Regions from separate parts of the Homo sapiens genome. Here regions 1, 3 and 4 are each linked to region 2. Evidence: promoter capture Hi-C in 16 types of primary human blood cells and fetal thymus (Javierre and others, 2016). All regions are on one chromosome and are shown on one strand. The core of a region is centred on a gene start or on the middle of the fragment in contact, and the rest is flanking DNA. Distances in the headings are between cores, read along the strand shown.

Region 1 (2,989 bases), core at 458-2,957, 2.0 Mb after region 2:
ATAAATATTTGTGATTTAAATCTGCTATTTGTGGTTCACACTTTTGAAAGGTAATTTGTGTCTTTATTTTTTAGAACAGCTTTGCTGAGCCATCAAGGTCTAATGGAAGCATGGTTCGGCATTCTTCATCTCCATATGTAGTATATCCTTCGGATAAGCCTTTCCTTAATAGTGATCTACGACGCTCCCCAAGTAAGCCTACACTTGCCTATCCAGAAAGCAACAGCAGAGGTAATCGAGCCTAACGAAATAAATGTTATTTGTGTTTTCTTGCTGCTTTAAAATTCTTAACTTTGTCCTCCATTATTTTGCCATTAGAGGAAAATATATTTCCCCTTTGCTTCCAGTTTCAGCCCCCAGAAAATATTATGCTTTTCTTGTATTCCTTATATTGATTGTTGAACATCATCATCCACCAAATTACTGATGCTAAAACACTTTGAGTCATCAGTGACTGCTCTGTAATCCCCACTATTAGTCCGGAATGAAGACCTTTTTTTGCTTCTGAAATATACCAAAAGCATACTGTTTTTTCTGCCTTTTTGTGTTCTCATTGCTTTGGTTCAGGCTTTCATCATCTGTAGCCCAGATGTTCATAGTACATTCCTCATTAATCTCCCTGCCTGTTTTCTCCTCCTCATCCCCAGTTAACAACATTTCTGTCATTTGTCATTATCCATCATCTCTCCCACAAAATTAAAGCTTTAGCATCTCTTCATAGCTTACATAATAAATTCTTAATTTTTCATAACCTAGACCCTATATGCCTCACCAGCTTCATCCCTAACTTGTCTTCTGTTTTTTCCTTTCCCATCCTTTGCTCTGGCTACTTTGAAATACATTTATTCCTGGAACCTGCCATCTGTATTAGTTTTCTTGTCGCCTTAACAAATTGCCATGAACTTAGCTTTAAATATTTGTTATCTCAGTTTTCTGTAGGTCGGAAATCTGTGTAGGCTTATCTGGGTCCTCTGTTTAGAGCCTTACAAGGCTGAAATCAAGGCTTTGCTTGGGGCTCTGTTCTTTACTAGAGGCTCTGGGGAAGATCTGCTTCCAAGCTCATTAAGATTCTTAGCCAAATTCAGTTCCTTGTCATTGCAGTACTGAGATTCTGTTGCTTTGCAGACTTTTACTTGAGGACAGTCTTTGCTCCTAGAAACTGTCCTCCTTCCTTCATGTTTCCCTTATTGTCTCCTACGGTAACAGTAGGTAGTCTCTCATGTTTCTTTTTTTTTTTTATTTTTTATTGTTTTTTTGGAGACAGAGTCTCACTCTGTCACCAGGCTGGAGTGCAGTGGCGGGATCCCGGCTCACTGCAACCTCCGCCTCCTGGATTCAAGCTATTGCTATTCTCTTGCCTCAGCCTCCTGAGTAGCTGGGACTACAGACGCGCCCAGCTAGTTTTTGTATTTTTAGTAGGGACGAGGTTTCACCATGTTGGCCCAGATGGTCTCAATCTCTGGACCTCGTGATCCACCCGCCTTGGCCTCCCAAAGTGCTGGGATTACAGGCATGAGCTACCGCGCCTGGCCAAGTCTCTTATGTTTCAAATCTCTCTGAGTTCTGTTGTTACATTTCTCTAACCACAGCGGGAGAAAATTTTCTGGTTATGTTATCAGATTGGGCCCACTCAGATAATGAAAAGATGGTTTTGATATTGAATTTGTTAATCGTCTTTTAGATGTTTCTTCATCTGTATCTTTTAAAATACACCTACCTCATACTTTGTGTGAAGTTTAAATGAAATATCTTTGCTTTATTTGGGATGCTGTGGCATTTCCTTTTTTTGAAAGTTGTGTTTAATCACTAATATTGCAACAATTCTATGTGTTAATGATTCTCTAGGTAAAAGAAATATTTTTGACATCGTAGGCTAAACAGGCATTTGTAAATTAGTTGAGGAACATTTTTTGTTTCAGTTGGGATATATATTGTAAGTATCCTAAAAATCTCAGAATGAACCTGTTTTGTAAACTGGACTGATTGTACAGTAAAATACCAAGTAGGTAATGATATCCAAATACCAGCTTAAATCCTAACCTATAATGGGTGCTGAAAAGTGTTTACTGAAATAAAAGTAACTAAATAGTGTGATGTCTTTTAAGAATTTTAGTACTCTGTAATCACTAACCTAGAAGCCTCTTTATTATAAGATACTGTGTCTCGATGATAACGAAAATTTTTAATTAATGGTTAAAGCAACTGATAAGGTTCTACACATCAGAGTATAGCAGGTTGGCAATTTAAGAAAATTAAGTTGCATGACATTCAAACAACATAGATTTTAAAAAGCAAAAAAAAAAAAAAAAAAATGACTGAAGCCCACAGTAGAGCAAAAATCAGTTGCAGTAAGTTTCTTATTCAAAAATAAGCACAAAACAAAATATCCATTTACAAAGTTCTAACAGGAACACAAAATCTAAGAATTAGATATTAATCCTTCAACTATAATATTGTATCTAGTTCTGATCTTTACACCCATGAAAGGAAACTTTTAAAAAGTTCAAAAAAATGACAAATTACTAGCAAAGAATAAGAAATATTAAGAAGGCAGATTTATTCACCGAGAATCAGAAAAATTTTAGCACAGCATGTTACTAATAGAGCTAAATTCTGCTTGAGTGCAACATCAGTGGTTTTAAGGAATAAAAGAGAAGTGAGACAAGCAGGGAGGAGACGGAGAGGAGAAATAAACAAGATAAAAAGTAACCTTTAAGCTTTTATGCCTTTAGAGCATGATGCGGTGAACTATTTAAGCAATGTCCCAGGATAATTATTATAATCCATTATCCTTTTATAGTGTTTTAATCCAACGATACTTACTTTCCAAATGGGAAGGAAAGACACAGAAATCACTATCCCCTTCTCACCCAGAAAAAAAATAAAGGCTGTGAGATATGAACAAAGACCAAGAGAGTTCAGAAAAGACATTTGTTGGGGATAGGGATAAGTGTGTTGGGGAGGTTAAAGGAGAGGAAAACCTCTCAGA
Region 2 (3,112 bases), core at 146-2,645:
AAGCAGCTAGTTTTGATCTTGAAGACTTGGTGGCAAAAGCTTTGCTTATTCTAGGAATCATAATCATTTGTTGTTGTCTTGTTTTTGTCTGCACTATTAGACTGCCACTGCGCCTGGCTATTAATCAGATTTTAAAATAAAGTTAAAAAAAATTTTTAAACAAATTTACACGAAAAGCAAGTACAGTGGTTCTCGAACATGATTGGGCGACAGACTGTACAGCTTGCCAGAAATAGGTTTCTCTCATGAAAATTCAACCCCCTCCACACACGGCCATCTACTTTCTTCTTCAGCAGGGACTGACACCAGGGCAACCGTATTTTCCTAAATACCTTAGGAAAGTAGTTCAAAACCTAGATATATCTTGGTCAGAACAAAACCTGGCAAACACTCATGATAAACGGTATATATAATTCCTTAAACGAAATATAGAGGTTTGTAATATAAAATAATCCATCTTTGTCTGTGGAATTCCTACTAATGAAATACGTTCTTGGAGACCCAAAGACTGAAGTTATACCACTTCTTCTTAATCTTTTAAATATTATTTGCAGGCCAGGCATGGTGACACGCTCCTATAGTCCCAGCTCCTCAGGAGGCTAAGGCAGGAGCATCGTTGGAGCCCAGGAGCTCCAGGCTGTAGCGTGCTGACAGCACTTGTGAATAACCTCTGCACTCAGCCTGGGCAACATAGTGGGACCCCATCACTAATAAAAAAGCGAGATCAACATTATTTATTCTGTTACTCGGGCATAAAATAAATATTAAGCACTTACTACATGCCAGAGTCTATTATGTCTGCTGCAGATATTGGCTGTCATAGAGTTATAACTAACAGGAAACCAAATAATTACGTAGTATAATTTTAAGTGGTGATAAGCACGATTGTTTCCCCCAAGCCATGCCCTTAATTTCTAACTCTTCAGATAGTGTTTCTTTAAAAAATTTCTTGCTAATTTAAAATAACTTTTGTTTTGAGGCAGGATCCCACTCTGTTGCTTAGGCTGGAATGCAGCGGTGAGATCTCGGCTCACTGCAGCCTCCATCTCCAGGGCTCAAGCCATTCTCCCGCCTCAGCCACCCGCGTAGCTGGACCACAGGCGCGCGCCACCAGATCTCAGTTCTCTCAACAGGACTCTCATTGCTAAGATCCAAGGATCCATTAATTTCCTTTTCCTTAACTCTTCTAGCCTCTGCAGCTTTCTTTCCTCATCCACTTTTTAAACAAACGCAGGCTTAAAAAGCAAGGAATATACCCGCCACACTCTCGGCTCCCAAACCGCTCTTTCCCTCCCTCTGCCGGCCACGCCTCTTATAGGCCCGGAAGTTTACCCCACCCTGCACCGTGATTCACCGGAAGCGCTCTAGGGAACCCTGGAGCTTCCGCGCCTGCCCAGTTTTGCTCCGAAAGACTTACCGAGGAGGGAGCTTGCGGTGCGTTCTGGGAAAGTTGCTGGGCCAGCTCCTTTGTTTCCAGTCTGAGCGTTGCGTTCGGTTTCCCGAGGGTCTTCTGAGGCACCGCGGCTGCGGGCTTCTGAGTTCCCGGCTCTCCGCAGGGAAGCCTCCTCTTCGTACCTCGTTTTTTGGCTCGTGGGGGGTCCTCCCACCGCTGGCCGACGCAGCCAGCATGTCCGGGGTGCGCGCAGTGCGGATCAGCATCGAATCGGCCTGCGAGAAGCAGGTCCATGAGGTGGGCCTGGATGGCACCGAGACGTACCTGCCCCCGCTGTCCATGTCGCAGAATCTGGCGCGTCTGGCCCAGCGGATAGACTTCAGCCAGGGTTCGGGCTCCGAGGAGGAGGAGGCGGCGGGGACCGAGGGCGACGCGCAGGAGTGGCCGGGCGCCGGGTCCAGCGCAGACCAGGACGACGAGGAAGGTAAGGCCTGCATCCGCTGCCCGAGTCCCCCGGTCTGGGTCCCAGCACCCGCGCGGGCCTCCGCCTCTCCCGCGATGGGGGTGATCTTGTGCGTGCGAGAACTTTTGAGTGTCCCTCTAGCGGAAGCGTAAGGATACTTGGTCGTCATCTTTTTGTTGCTGCCGGACAAGGTAGGACACGACTTTACGTAATACTCCTGCGGGTCTCCTTGAATGGCAGCGTTTAGAGACACTGTCAAACCGTGAAATGTTTAAATGAATGCTTCTCTGTAGAGGGCCTTTAATGTAGCACACTTAGTGGCTAAAAGAGCCCTAGATCGGGGCTCTGCCCCTTGCCGGCTGTGTGACCTTGGGCGAGTTACTTTGCATCCTTGTGCGGTGTGAATGATGATAGTAGCACCTGCAGAAAAGAGGTCTGTTTTGACTGAAATGTGTGACGAGGTCCAAGAGGTAGGCGGGTCCAGATCATGTAGAACCCAGTAGGCCGGGATAAGCGTTTGACTAGTGTTAAGACCACTGAAAGCTTTTGCAGGATAAGTAGAGATGGTTTTGTTAAAGTTTACTCTAGATGCTTTCTAATAAATGAATTATAGGGAAAGCAAAACTGGAAGGGAGGAGACTAGGAGGGAAGTGAAGAAATAATGAGTGGGTTTCAGATTCTCATTATTGTCAAGGATTTTTGAAAAAAAAATCAAAATTCTTAATTTAGTTATGCAGCACACCCAGTGTAAATGGGAATTTAAAGATGTCATTTCAGGGCAGTGCTGTTAGGATTATTAGGGGTCTATTTGCAAAAAAAGGTAAATACTACTTTATACCTCACACAAAAATTATTTCCACAGTAATTTTTGAGGATTGAAGTGCCAAATGAAGAAAGTAAAACAAAGTGTTAGAAGAAATAATGAAAGAATAGTTGTATTATTCTGGGAGTCGGATAGATCTTCTTAATTTCGGAAATAACAGGACAGGCATGGTGGCTCACACCTGTAGTTCCAACATTTTTGGAGGCCAAGGTGGAAGGATCACTTGAGCCCAGACTTCAAGACCAGCCTGAGCAACATAGGGAGCTCCTGCCTCTACAAATTAAAAAAATTAGCTGGGCGTGGTGGTGCACGTCTGTGGTCCCAGCTACTGGGGAGGCTGAGGGAGGAGGATGGATTCAGCCAGTGAGATCAAGGCTGCAGTGAGCTATGATTGTGCCACCGCACTCCAGCCTGGGTAACAGAACAAGACTCT
Region 3 (2,816 bases), core at 240-2,739, 2.1 Mb after region 2:
TTATTTTAAAAGATGAGAAAACTGTAGACTAGAAAGTCTAAATGAAAAGACCAAAGAGCTAGCTCAGCCAGAGACTTCAGCATGGGAGCTTCCTAACTTCCAGTACTTCCTTCTTTCTAACATACTGTGCTGCTTCATGTGGTTCTAACTTCTCTGCCTTGGATGAGAGTACTGGTTGCCTCTTATGCTATTCTGAGGCATAGTTGTCATTTGTAACTTTCCCATAAAATTCGAATTTTCCAACCTGTTTTCTGAATGAATTACACAACTGAACATGTTAATCCTCAGCTTTCCAAATTTCAAAGCAATAAATACAGAATTCAAAAAATACTTGATTCAAACGTGCAATATATATAATCAAACTGCAAAGAAAAATCCTCCTTTCCTGGATAATTCAGGCTACAAATTCGAAAAAAAAAAAACCATTTAGTGAGCACCTATCACATGCTGAGACTATGTTAAGTGCTGGAGATATGAAGATGATTAAGATTGCCCTCAAGTATAATAGCTTATAACCTGGTAGAAAAGGCACTTTAAGCCAACAATTATAGTGTGCTTATTAAAGACTCTGAAAAACGACTGTGCAGGGAGCTATGAGTGCATATGGCAATGTAGAATGACGGGATCAGACAGTGGTTCCCCAGTGAGGTGCTGAACATCAACAGGAAAAAAGGCAATAACTACCCATATTTAGCAGAATCCAAAATGAATTATAATAGAGCCACTTCAACTGATTGAAGGAGAAAATGAAAATTGTGTGTTTTCACACAGCAGTTATCGAATCACTCTCTAATAACAATTAGACTATTATTCAGTGGAAAAGAACCAGATTTCATCGTGGCTGCATAAAAAGCAAATACAGGTCTTATATTATTTTTTAAAAAATTTTTAAATCATTATTTTAAAATCAAAGAAAAAGACTGCATCCAAAACGCGTCTAGTTAATATTCATAAAAGCTCTCTGCAAAGCTGCATAAAGTCCTCCTCAAAATTCCAGGATAAAATTCCCATCTGTTACAAGAGAAATGACAACGTGGAGAACCAGTAGCCCAAGAAGGAAGAAAACTACCACTCATTTTGTTTTCTTAAACCTATCACTGGGGATAAAAACCACTCAGATTCCTTGATACTGACTTTCAGCTGGAAGATTTAGAAAAGAGAAGCACAGGAGACATTTTTATTTACATATTTAAGCAAAAAGGGAGGCGAGAAGAAAATCAGAGTGTAGAGAAAAGCATGAAAGAAATTAAGAAGGTGAAGCCATGAAAAGAGAGAAAAGGGCTGGGCAAGAACCCAAAAACCAAAGACATAAGAAGGGGTGGAGGAGGAAAGACTGACTTTAGGATGGTTTTGGAAAAAGTGACAGAGAAAGACAGGAAATGTGGGGAAAAGAATGGGGGCGGGGGGAACTGTCTTAAAAAAGGTTTGAGAGGGAATGAAAGACAGGAGAAAGTAATTAACTGGGACCACCTCCATCGGGGAGAAAACGAGATCGGAATATGAAAGGTAGAGGAATCGATAAAGAAGCAGCGAGTTTTAACCTCCTTTTCCTCAGCCTCCACGCCCCAGGGAGGGAGGCAGAAGTGGTTCCCAAGTCCCGGGGAAGGAATTCCGGCGTAGCCTTCAGAAACCAGAATCCGCGAATTGGGGCAACAATCCAGCAGGTCCCCGGCCCCTCTCCATCCCCTTCGGACGCTGGGCGGGGCCCTGGGCGTCCTGGTTACCTGGACAAGGAGTCCACGCTGGGCGGCCGAGCCGCCGCCGGCTGGGAGCCAAGACTCTCGCAGCTCGAGCTCTTCTCCATCGCGCGGCAGGGGCAGCACAGGGAAAGGCTGAAGCAGTCTTCGCGGCTACAGGGCGGGAGAAGCGGAGGGCGGAGTGCTACGGACCGGGGCCGCAGTCAGGCCAGCGCCGGCCCGGGAGGGAGACCGGAAGCGGCCATGTTCCCCCAGAGTGCACCGCGCCTGTAGGCTGCTGGGCAGCGGGAAGACCCCACTGCGCAGCTCAGACGCCGGCATCGACTCTCCGTGCTGGCTGTGTCCGGCCGCGCGACATCTGGTCTTGGGGAAAGGGAGGTGGCGGCTCCCAGGGTGAGGGGGTCTGGTGAAGCGGGAGGGATGAAGGACCAGACCCTTATGGAAGGAGGAGAAATCCTAGGTGTAAGAGGAATGAGGGAACACTAAACATGAGGGTCTCAGGAAGGCGATAAGGACCTGAGGCCAGGAGGATGATTTAGACAGGAATGTGGGGGTCAAGGAAAACAAGAGGACCGGATAATGAGAGAAAAGTGAGAAAGAGGTATGGGAGAGGGATTGGGGAGGATCTGATATACATGCAAAAAGAATTATATACTACTGGATGCGGTGGTGTTGGATTACCCAAGTAGAAGACAAACTTTCACCGATTTTTCCCTGCCCTTTCAAATTCCCGTGCCTAGCAGGAAGGGAGTGTGGAGGAATAGAACTGTGATAAGAGAACAGGAACTGGGTAAAGGGGAAATGCTTCTGCTAGGATTTTTCTGTTAGGATACAGGAAAGCCATAAGGACACCATAAAGGGATTTTTCTGATTGAGATTGAATCCTAATCATCTCATGTATGGGGTGTAAAATTATGCAAAGATTATTCCTGTAAAAAAAAAATCAGACCATCCTTAAAAAACTTCCTTGCTAGGATAAATTGAATTATATTGATTTAAACTAGATTTAATTTATAATGTACAACTGATGTCTTTTAAAAAACCTTATAGTTGCAGTGCAGTATTAACTTGCAAGTACATTCCCAAGAAGAACAACCTAGCTTAGTTATGTTCAGTGTA
Region 4 (3,020 bases), core at 494-2,993, 2.6 Mb after region 2:
TTCAAGAGATTTACAATGGAAAGGAGGAAACAGACATGTAAGAAAGGGAGAATGAGTTAAGTGTTACTGGAAGAGTGCAAATGAAAGACTAATTCTGATGAGTGGCATAAGGAGGTATAATAATTTTGATATGAGAAGTAGAGATGGCAACAACTGAGTTGGCCTTCAAAAATAATATTTTCATGATGTTTTGTAATTCTTAAGATATTTTCGTAGACACTAGCTCAATGTCCAAGAGATCATCTAAAGGATACATTTGGTTGGGAAAGTAAACCTTAATTTAATCTTAGCTGCAGGGATGAATCCATTTGTTTAACTGAGAAGTCTTACTGAGGCTTTGCTTTTTCAGTCTTATTTCCTTCCTACTGTTTGTAGTCTGGAGAAATAGTTTTTGAAACCTACAAAAGCCCCCAGATTTCTGGACTTTCTCTAAGCCAAGGTATTTAACTGAATGTCAGAATAAAGGTATGCTTTATTTTGCTTATAACTGACTAATTTTCTGAGCTCACTTCTTTCTTGTATTATTTGCTGAACACAGCAAGGAGCAAATAACGTTAATTTTCTGGCTCTTTCCAGCCACTTCCTCTAGAGAAGGGCTTCTTAACTTCAGGGTTATCATGATGCAGATAACTCTCTGTTGTGGGGGGCTGTACTGGATATTAAAGGAGTCTTAGCAACATCTCTTGTCTCTACCTGCCACTTCCTCCCTGCTCCAGTATGACAACCAGAAATGTCTCCACACATTGCCAGATGTCCCCTGGGGGCAAAATTGTGCCTGTATGAGAATCACCGCTCTAGAATCACAAGCTTAGAGTCAGTCTGCTTTCCGAGTTATTGAAAGTAATATTTACAACATGTTTCTTACCACTATTCCATCTTTCCAGTGCCTGCTAGTTATTTCCTTGACGCATATTTCCTACTCACTAATATAATGCCACATATTTGATTATCACAACAGCAGCCCACTTCAAGATACCTATTTCTCTGTTGATTTGGGTAACTGTAGCTGATGAAACCCCCACATTTTAGAGGCTTAACACAGTAAGTGTTGTTTGTCTTTTTCTCTTAGTGGTCTTATGATATAAAGCTTTGTCAAAGCATGACTTTTTTCAAGTGATTCTTGGACCCAAGTGCTTTCCATCTTGTGATTTTGCATCTGCTAAACACTTAGAATCCTTTGCATCCAGTTGGCAGTTGGGAAAAGAGAGAATACACAGTGCACACTTGTTCCTTAATGCCCTTCTTTCAGAAGCCATATACATTCTTTCAGTTCACTTTCTATTGGTGAAAACTAGTCACCTGGCCCTACCTTGATGTGGGGTGGGGGTGGGATGGGTGATGGGAATGACTCCCTAACTAGGCAGCTGTTTCACAATGACAACTTTATATAATCAAAAGGGAGGCACAAATGTTGTTGAATAATTAGCCCTTTGTGAAACAAAAATAGGTACATTAGGGCAGTTATTCTCATAGAACCCATTCAGGGAGCTTTTATAAAAAATATCAGTACATGAGTCTTACTCGCAGAGGATCTGATTTACTTGGTCTAAAGTGACTATGGTGTATCTTTTATTTATTTTTTTTAAGTTCCCAGATATCTCAAATAATGCAGCCAGAGTTGAGAACCACAAGATTGCCCATTTTCAGGGCAAACAAAGTAGACGTAGGAACAAGAGAATAATGGGTTTCTTTGATGAACCATGAAATCAAGACTAGGCATAAAATAATAATGGGGAAACTAAATAAGTGCCGTATTACTAATGTTTTTCCACTCCAAAACTCATGTTAAAATTTAATTGCGAATCTGATGGTAGTGTAATTTCTAGGTGATTAGGCCATGAGTGCTCCACTCTCGTCAATGAATGAACACTATTATGAAAAGGACTTTTGGGAGTGAGCACTCTCTCACTCTTCTGTCTTCCACCATGTGATGACTCAGCAAGAGGGCCCTCACCAGATGCCAGGGCCTTGGTTTTGAACATCCCAGCCTCCAGAACTGTGATGAAATAAATTTCTGTCCTTTATGAATTCCCCAGTCTCAGGTATTCTGTTATAGTAGCACAATGGACTAAGACAGAAATTGGTACCAAAGGAGTGGGGTGTTGCTATAACAAATATCTGAAAATGTGGAAGCAGCTTTTGAATAGTTTTGACGTGACTGCTGGAAAAACGCTGTGTTGCCAAAAATGGAGCATTAAGGGCAATATGGGTAACAGCTCAGATGGAAATAAGGAATATCTTATTGGAAACTAGAGGAAGAGCCATCTTTTTATGAAGTAGCAAAAAACTTGCCTGAATTGTGTCTATGCCCCAGGGCTTTATAGAAGGTAGCATTTAAGAGGAATGAACTAGGATATCTGGCAAAAGATTTCTAAGCAGCAAAATATTGAGAGGACTGTGAAGCTTCTCTCTCTCTTTTTTTTTATACTTTAAGTTCTAGGGTACATGTGCACAACGTGCAGGTTTGTTACATATGTATACTTGTGCCATGCTGGTGTGCTGCACCCATTAACTCATCATTTACATCAGGTATATCTCCTACTGCTATCCCTCCCCATGACAGGCCCCAGTGTGTGATGTTCCCCTTCTTGTGTCCAAGTGTTCTCATTGTTCAATTCCCACCTATGAGTGAGAACATGCAGTGTTTGGTTTTTTGTCCTTGTGATAGTTTACTGAGAATGATGGTTTCCAGCTTCATCCATGTCCCTACAAAGGACATGAACTCATCCTTTTTATGGCTGCATAGTATTCCATGGTGTATATGTGCCACAATTTCTTAATCCAGTCTATCATTGATGGACATTTGGGTTGGTTCCAAGTCTTTGCTATTGTGAACAGTGCTACAGTAAACATGCGTGTGCATGTGTCTTTATAGCAGCATGATTTATAATCCTTTAGGTATATACCCAGTAGTGGGATGGCTGGGTCAAATGGTATTTCTAGTTCTAGATCCTTGAGGAATCGCCACACTGACTTCCACAATGGTTGAACTAGTTTACAGTCCCACCAGCAGTGTAAAA

The links. The method cuts DNA at HindIII sites, captures the fragments that hold promoters and counts their contacts. A CHiCAGO score of 5 or more calls a contact.
Region 1: a contact is called between a fragment that was not itself captured here and the fragment with the promoter of MED17 in region 2, in 1 of 17 cell types (total CD4 T cells). The highest score is 6.1, in total CD4 T cells.
Region 3: a fragment that was not itself captured here is called in contact with the fragment with the promoter of MED17 in region 2 in 2 of 17 cell types (non-activated CD4 T cells and total CD4 T cells); the score reaches 5.7 in non-activated CD4 T cells.
Region 4: a fragment that was not itself captured here is called in contact with the fragment with the promoter of MED17 in region 2 in 1 of 17 cell types (total CD8 T cells); the score reaches 5.1 in total CD8 T cells.

The regions. Positions count from the first base shown.
Region 1 is chr11:95,799,158-95,802,146 of GRCh38, forward strand. It overlaps CEP57 (centrosomal protein 57), which reads left to right. Exons shown (of 11, transcript NM_014679.5): 2 at 75-231. Among named protein-coding and RNA genes, the nearest start is that of CEP57, 10 kb to the left of the region's middle. The HindIII fragment of the contact is 2,015 bases long and covers 701-2,715 here.
Region 2 is chr11:93,782,887-93,785,998 of GRCh38, forward strand. MED17 (mediator complex subunit 17) reads left to right here and starts at 1,396. Exons shown (of 12, transcript NM_004268.5): 1 at 1,396-1,877. The coding sequence starts at 1,628. RefSeq lists enhancers at 1,217-1,511, 1,453-1,672 and silencers at 1,803-1,932, 1,934-2,128. The HindIII fragment of the contact is 2,360 bases long and covers 38-2,397 here.
Region 3 is chr11:95,922,151-95,924,966 of GRCh38, forward strand. MTMR2 (myotubularin related protein 2) reads right to left here and starts at 1,957. Exons shown (of 15, transcript NM_016156.6): 1 at 1,725-1,957. The coding sequence starts at 1,804. RefSeq lists enhancers at 1,935-1,984, 2,045-2,174. The HindIII fragment of the contact is 2,990 bases long and covers 1-2,816 here.
Region 4 is chr11:96,396,125-96,399,144 of GRCh38, forward strand. No RefSeq gene overlaps it. Among named protein-coding and RNA genes, the nearest start is that of JRKL, 7.6 kb to the left of the region's middle. The HindIII fragment of the contact is 1,316 bases long and covers 1,086-2,401 here.